Linked DNA regions of Homo sapiens: region 2 is linked to region 1. Evidence: promoter capture Hi-C in 16 types of primary human blood cells and fetal thymus (Javierre and others, 2016). All regions are on one chromosome and are shown on one strand. The core of a region is centred on a gene start or on the middle of the fragment in contact, and the rest is flanking DNA. Distances in the headings are between cores, read along the strand shown.

Region 1 (3,722 bases), core at 108-2,607:
AGATGGGGTGTGAGAGCTGGCTGGACACAGATTTAACCTTCCAGGGCTGAGGAGCTCGTCTACGGTAGGTTGGATGAGGGCGTGAAGAAGCATGTGTGAGCGTGTGTGTGCTGGAGGGTGTGAGGGTGTGAGGCTGTGTCTGAGTGATTGCACGTGAGAGCATGTGTCTGCATGTGTGACTGTGTGTGTGTGTGTGTGTGTGTGTGTGTGTGTGTGTGTGCGTGTGTGTGTTGGGGGCAGGAAAGGGAGCTGGTGTGGAGGGGCTCAAACTGGTGCAGGCAGAGTGGACAAAAAGAGAAAAGAGTTGTCTTTGAGTTGGGCCTGGAGAGCAGGAGAAGAAAAAAGGAGCTCTTATTGGTGGTTGTCAAGGAGATGGGCCTTGGGGTTTGCTGAACTTTCGTCCCTTAAAGCGTCCTGCCTGGAACTGAGAGGGGCCATTTATTTCCAGCCGCCCGTCCCTCCCAGGCCCGGTGGGACCAGACCCGAAGCCAACCCTCGCCAGGCGTCAGGTGTAGACCCCAGGCCAGGCCAGAGCAGTTCCTGGGTCTTCGGACCGGGATGCCCGCCCTGCCCCTCCTCCTGGCCCCGCCCGGTCTGTCACAGGGGGAGGCCTCGGCCTCGCATTCCGGGCAGCGAACTTCGCCGGCCGAGGTTAGCCCCGTGCGGGGGCCTCCCGCGGGACCGACCGCCAAGCGGCATTGTCCGTCCCGGGCGCCCGCCCGGTTCCAGACGCAGGTCCTGCGGCCGCCCCGTGACAAGCACACTGACGGGCCACTGTCCTTTGACGAGTGCTAAAAAGTTCGTTTGTTTTGAACGTCAATTTTCAAGTGATCTTCACGAGGTTTCCCCTCCCGGTTCCTTCGCTGCTGCCTCGCCCGCACTCGGTCCCCAGTAGGTGCTCAAGAAACGTCCAGCAAACGGCAGCGCAGGCGAGTCTGCTCTGCGCGCTGGCGCGTTTCACTGCCCACGGATGGCGGGCGACCTCACGGGATCCCCGGTTCGCAGGATCCCCGCCCCCGAGGCTGCCTCTGGGCCGGGAGGGGTTACCCCAGAGGGGCGTCCACTCTCGACGGCGGGGGCCGGGGCGCCGCGGGCAGGGGAGGGCGCAGCCTCCAAGCAGCCCCAGCCTGGCCTAGACCCCGCGCCTAGCGAGCCGGCCGGCCAGGCCCACACCCCCCACCTGCCGCCCGCCCCAGGGGAAGGGTCCCCCCGACGACGCCCGAGCCCCCCTCTTCCTCGGAGGGCCGGAGGCCGGCGCCCATTGGCCGGCCCTGGGCGACGCCCCGCCCCTCCGACGCCACGGGCCAATGAGCGCGCGCTGTCAGCTCATCAGCCGGGCTGGCTGGGCGGCTCGGGAGCCCGAGCGGTGGCGGAGCGGCGAGCAGCGAGCAGCGCCTGCGGGAGCGGCCGGTCGGTCGGGTCCCCGCGCCCCGCACGCCCGCACGCCCAGCGGGGCCCGCATTGAGCATGGGCGCGGCGGCCGTGCGCTGGCACTTGTGCGTGCTGCTGGCCCTGGGCACACGCGGGCGGCTGGCCGGGGGCAGCGGGCTCCCAGGTAAGCCCCCGACCGAGGTGGGGGGCGGCGGGCGCGGGGGGCTCGGGCGGCCGAGGCGCGGTCCCGGAGGGCTTCTTCCCCGCGGATCCCGAGCTCGCCCCGCGCGGCCCCGCGCCCCCTGCCTCTTTGCAAAGTAACTTCTAGGGCCGGCCCGGGGCGCCCCCTCCCCGCAGCCCGGGCGGCCGGGGCTCCTGAGTCCGGCGGGGCCGCACCAGGGGTGGGTGGGCCGGGGCCCCGGGAGGGGAAGCGCGAGCGCGGGAGCGAGGAAGAAAGGCGGCGGTTCCCGGGGACCCCGCGTGCGGACCTGGGCGGGGCGGGACCCCGAGCGCAGAGGGGCGCTCCTCCTGGGAGAGGGGGCGCGGGGCGGGGCGGGCGGAGGGGGACACGCCAGGAGGTGGACGGGGAAAGGGACGGACCGAGAGACCGGGACGGGGCGGGAGGTGCGGGACAGACGGACAGAAGAGCCGGCGCCGAGGGAGCAGACAAAAGGAAGCCCGGAGAAAAGACAGATGCGGAAGGGTAGAGAGGAGGCCCGCACCGCCCGGGGAAGGAGGAGGAGGCCGGTGGATCAGGGGGAATCAAGAGGGATGGTCCCACCGATGATAAGGGAGAGAGAGAGGAGGAGACGGGGGACAGATGGACGCCGCAGAAAAACGGGGTTGGGGGGGGCGGTGAGAGGGAGACCGGGAAAGAGAGAGGGACAGAGATACCTGGAAAGCCGCAGACGAGGGACCGGGACCGTCTGACAGGACGGGGAGGAAAGACAGAGGGAAGGAAGGCAGAGGATCCGGAGGACAGACACAGGGAGGAGAGTCCGGACGCGGGACGTCGGTGGAGCAGACCCAGGAAGGGGAGGGGGAGACCCGGAGGCCACAGGCCCAGGCCCGTGGGTTTCACGGGGACCCCCCCACCCTCCCACCCGGTCCCCTCCTGCTCTCTGTCTTCAGGGGCTTCCCGAAAAGCTGGAGTCACATTCTCCCCTCCTCGTCATCAGAGGCGCTTCCTCCGGTGCTCTGCTTGGAGGGGGAGGCAGGGGGAGGGTCCTGCACGTCCTTCCCGGCTTCCTGAGGTCTGGTATGGGTGGCGTAGGGTCTATTCCTGGTGGTCCCGCGTGCCCCGAGTGAGGATGCTGGGCCTGTGAGACTCTTCCACAGCAACACCCCTCCTGGAAGCCCAGCCCTGCTGCCCCATCATCCCCCTTGTGTCTGTGGGTGTCTCTCCCAAGCTTTGGGGTCCCTCACCTCTGAGTGACTGTTCCTGGGCGTGCCTATCCCCACCTGTGTCCCTCCTCGTGTCTCTCTGTATCTGACTCTGTCTCCTCCACGACCCTCTCCGTGGAAGCCCTGTGACTGTGAAACCCCAGCAGCATGTCCCCAGCATAAGCAAACCAGAGTCAAAGGGAGCAGCCTGTGCTAGGAGGGCTGGGTCGCCCTGCAGGGGAGTCTCCAGCCCAGACAGGAGCGGGAGCATGGCAGAGAACCGATGGGGACAAGTGGCTTCTCCCTCTCTCTCCTCAAACTCCCATGTCCTCTCCCCACACTCCACACCAAGGACACCCAAGTGTTTAAAGGTGTGTTGGGAGATAGCTCCACCCACCCCTCATCAACATCCATCCATTTCCATTCCAGTGAAGACACCTGCCTAGGTGGGAGATTAGGGGTGAGGGCACAAGGGGCTCCCACCCCTCATTCCTACATACTGGCCCCTGGGAAGTGGGAAGAGCCATATCTGTGGCCCACTGCCCCTGCTGGTCCTGTCTCATAAGTGACCCCAGTCCTCCCAAACAGAAGCCTGGAGATGGGCCCTCTCTGGCCTCTGGGTCCCTGCCTTAGAGGCAGTGCCAGTCCTGCACAGTGTCCCTCTGTTGCCACTTCCCCAGAAGGCCCTCATGGATGTTCCTGCTGGCCCAGCCATCCAGTTGCCGGCTGGGCCCCCTCCAGTTCCTGCCTCCTTGTCCCCTTTCCACTCTTCCCCTGGGCAGCTGTCTAGGACAGGCCGCCCACCTGAGCAGATGGGTAGCCCCCCCCGGAAAGCAATGCCACCTGCCGTGTGTGTGCGCACACGTGCATGCATGTGTGTGTGTGTGTGTGTGCAGGGGGGTCATGCTGTTGTGTTTCTTGTTGATGCCTCTCTTCCTTCAGGGGTGGGCAGGAGACTTAGGGGCTAG
Region 2 (3,921 bases), core at 384-2,883, 120 kb after region 1:
CCCCTAGAATGGTTGAGCCAAGGATTGTCTTTCCTGGTTCCTGAAGGAGGTTCTAATGCTGGCTCGGGTGTCACAGCAGCACTTTGCTCTTGGCTATATGTGAGTGTCAACCTGTGAGTCGTTGATGTTGAAGAGATGGGATCTGTCAGCAGATAAGTGTGGTATGGGCCTGGCTGTGGGCTTGGGCGCTGTGGAAAGAAAAGTCCCCACCCAGGTAACACTCTCAGCCAGAGAGGCAGACGCACGTGCAAACCACCCATTGCCAGGTGGGACTCTCGGTGGTGGGGGCACAAGAACAAACAATGCATAGAACTGAGGTCTGCCCCCCACGGGAGGGCTTAGGAAATGTCTTAGTCTGGCTGGGCACACTGGCTCACGCCTGTAATCCCAGCAGTCTGGGAGGGCCAAAGTGGGTGGATCACTTGAGTTCAGGAGTTCAAGACCAGCCTGGCCAACATGGTGAAACCCTGTCTCTACTAAAAATACAAAAATTAGCCAGGTGTGGTGGCAGGCACCTGTAATCCCAGCTACTCAGGAGGCTGAGGCAGGAGAATCGCTTGAACCTGGGAGGCAGAGATTGCAGTGAGCTGAGATCGCGCCACTGTGCTCCAGCCTGGCGACGAGTGAGACTCTATCTCAAAAAAAAAAAAAGGAAATGTTTTAGTCTATTTGCGTTGCTAAAAGGAACACCTGAGGCTGCATAATTTATCAGGAAAAGAGCTTATTGGCTCTCGGCTCTGCAGGCTGTCCGAGAACACGGCAGCAGCATCTGCCTGGCGAGGCCTTAGGCTGCTTCTGCTCACGGAGGAAGGTGAAGAGCAGCTGGCATCACATAGCAAGAGTAAGGGAGCAAGAGAGAGGGGAGGGGGTGCCTATGTCTTCACCAGTCACATCTCGTGGCGACTAGTAGAGCCAGCAAGAACTGACTACCACACCAGGCCATTCATGAGGGACCTACCCCATGACCCAGACACCTCCCACCAGGCCCCACCCCCAGCATTAGGGATCAGATTTCAACATGAGGTTTGGAAGAGACAAATATTGAAACCATATCAGGAAGCTTTCCCAGAAGAGGTGCCATTTGAATGAGAGCTTAGAATCAAAGCTCACTGGGTGGAAAAGGTGGCAAGGAATGGCATTCAGGCAGAGGGAATAGAATAGGCAAAGGCACAGAGGTCAGAGAGAGGAGGAGGTGTCCAGGAAGCAGTAAGTAGGGCCAGGTGGCTAGACATTGGAATCCACAGGGAGTGTCAGAGTGGAGGGGATGAGGCTGGCAAGGCCATACGGGGCTGGACCTTGAAGGGCCTTGGATTCAAGGCCAGAGAGCTGGACACTATCCTGGGGACAGTGGCAGTCCCCAAGAGTCTTTGAGTGACAGAAAGGCGTTCTTGCCCCGTGAGTCGTACCCTGGGGGGTGATGTGGTGCAGTGGCAGCTGCCTGGATTGCACTCAGATCTGCTGCGTGGCCGTGGGCAGGCCCTGCCTCCCAGGTCCGCAGCCTCCTCATCTGTCAGATGGGCATGACAGTGGCCCCTTGCCCCAGGACTGTTGTGAGAATGTGCTGAGGAGGTCCGAGCCCAGTGCAGGGCCTGGCACGGGGGAGCCCTCAGCTAAGAAGGCAGCGGCTAGCAAGGTTGCCAGCGATTCATGTTCTGTCTCTCCTGCCCCTGCAGACACATGCGAAGCGGACTGCTTGCGGAAGCGAGCAGAACAGAGCCTGCAGGCCGCCATCAAGACCCTGCGCAAGTCCATCGGCCGGCAGCAGTTCTATGTCCAGGTCTCAGGCACTGAGTACGAGGTAGCCCAGAGGCCAGCCAAGGCGCTGGAGGGGCAGGGGGCATGTGGCGCAGGCCAGGTGCTACAGGACAGCAAATGCGGTGAGTCCTTGCCCATGGCCACTCAGATGCTGACTCTGTCCTTCCTTGCACATGAGCCGGGGTAAACAGTGGTGGGCACGCAGGTGAGACAGACACCTGGGGAGGGGACAGAGAGATGCAGAGGCCTGCCGGGGAGAAGGACTGCAGCCCTCATGGTCATCACTGTCATTTGAAGAGCACTCCTCTGTGCTGGGCCTCGGGCATGTGATCACAGTCTGAGGAGGGACAAGGAGTGGACAGGACAGCAAGGCCACAGTCGAGGGGCGCGAGGGGGCACGGGAACCAGAACAGGCCCTCTCTAGTCTGGGATGTGGTTCAGGGAAGCTTCCTGGAGGAGAAGTCACGTTAGCTAAGACCTCAGGGCTCCAGGAGTTGGGGAGCCTGAGTCAGGGTCGGGGGACAGAGCAGGGATGTCGTGAGGCCTAGGGCCGCCCAGGAGGGCAGCGTCGTGCTGCAGGGAAGCAGGTGAGGCCGGCCCCCAGCGGGCGGGTGTGCGCTGGAGGGGAGAGCCTGGACGCAGGACAGGCAGAACCAGCACACGAGACAGTCCTAGTTCTAGTGGAGCTCACATGCCCGTGCGGAAGATGGACAGTGGGCCAGTGAACATGCCCACAGGTACAGTGAGGCCAGAGGTGATGGGGCCTGGCAGACACCACTCTTGAGTTGGATGGGGAGCCATAGGAATGCTTAGAGCAAGGACGCAGGCTCATGCGCGCTCTTACGGGAAGGCTGAGTAGCGGGGGCGGAGCAAGGACGGGGAGGAGCATGAGATGGAGGGGGCTCCTAGGGAGAGACAGACTTCAAGGACGACTCCAAGGGTTTGGCCAATTGGGCAGAGGTGGTATCGCTTCCTGACGCCGGCCAAATCCCCAAGGATTTGAGGAAGAGTGGGCTGGGGGGAGGGAAACTTGATGAAGAGTGGGCTGCGGGGATGGGGTGCGCAGGCTGGACATGTTCAGTCTGAGACGCTCACAAGTCATCCACATGGAGATGTTGGATGGGCAGTTGCAGCCACAAGTCCGAAGCCTCAAACAATAGGGTTGGCCAGGGGTGTAAACTGGGAAGCCGGAGGAGAAGAAATGATACCTGGCGGGGGAGGAGGGAAGCTGTTGGAGAAGAGGTGACACCTGGCGGATGGGGGGTGGGGGTTGGGGGAAGCTGTTGGTAAAGAGGTGACACCTGGCAGGGTGGGGAAGCTGTTGGTAAAGAGGTGACACCTGGCGGGGTGGGGAAGCTGTTGGTAAAGAGGTGACACCTGGCGGGGTGGGGGGAAGCTGTTAGAGAAGAGGTGACGGCAGTGTTGGGGGAAGCTGTTGGAAAAGAGGTGACACCTGGCAGTGGGGGTGGGAGGGAAGCTGTTGGTAAAGAGATGACACCTGGCGGGGGGTGGGTGGGGGGAAGTTGTTGATAAAGAGGTGACACCTGGAGAGGGCGGGGAAGCTGTTGGTAAAGAGATGACACCTGGCAGGGGAAGGGCCAGGTTGGGGAAGCTGGGACTCTGGCTCAGACAGTGGAGGGGGACAGCCGTACTGACAAGGGGGGACAAAGGGAGCTTGGTGATGTCATCTTCTACTTTCTTTTTTTGTTTGTTTGTTTTTATTTTTGAGACAGAGTCTCGCTCTGTAGCCAGGCTGCAGTGCAATGGTGTAATCTCAGCTCACCGCAACTCTGCCTCCCAGGTTCAACCTATTCTACTGCCTCAGCCTCCCAAGTAGCTAGGACTACAGGTGCGCGCCACCGTGTCCGGCTAATTTTTGTATTTTTAGTAGAGACAGGGTTTCACTATGTTGGCCAGGCTGGTCTCAAACTCCTGACCTCATGATCTGCCCACCTCGGCCTCCCAAAGTGCTGGGATTATGGGTGTGAGCCACTGCGCCCAGCCTCTTCTACTTTCAATAACTTATTTTGGGCCGGGCATGGTAGCTCACGCCTGTAATCCCAGCACTTTGGGAGGCCGAGACAGGTGGATCACCTGAGGTCAGGAGTTTGAGACCAGCCTGGCCAACATGGTGAAACCCCGTCTCTACTAAAAATACAAAAATTA

The links. The method cuts DNA at HindIII sites, captures the fragments that hold promoters and counts their contacts. A CHiCAGO score of 5 or more calls a contact.
Region 2: a contact is called between a fragment that was not itself captured here and the fragment with the promoter of SCUBE1 in region 1, in 2 of 17 cell types (activated CD4 T cells and total CD8 T cells). The highest score is 5.6, in activated CD4 T cells.

The regions. Positions count from the first base shown.
Region 1 is chr22:43,341,007-43,344,728 of GRCh38, reverse strand. SCUBE1 (signal peptide, CUB domain and EGF like domain containing 1) reads left to right here and starts at 1,357. Exons shown (of 22, transcript NM_173050.5): 1 at 1,357-1,555. The coding sequence starts at 1,468. The HindIII fragment of the contact is 3,211 bases long and covers 1-2,782 here.
Region 2 is chr22:43,216,211-43,220,131 of GRCh38, reverse strand. SCUBE1 (signal peptide, CUB domain and EGF like domain containing 1) reads left to right here. Exons shown (of 22, transcript NM_173050.5): 15 at 1,674-1,877. Among named protein-coding and RNA genes, the nearest start is that of SCUBE1-AS2, 5.5 kb to the right of the region's middle. The HindIII fragment of the contact is 1,141 bases long and covers 1,063-2,203 here.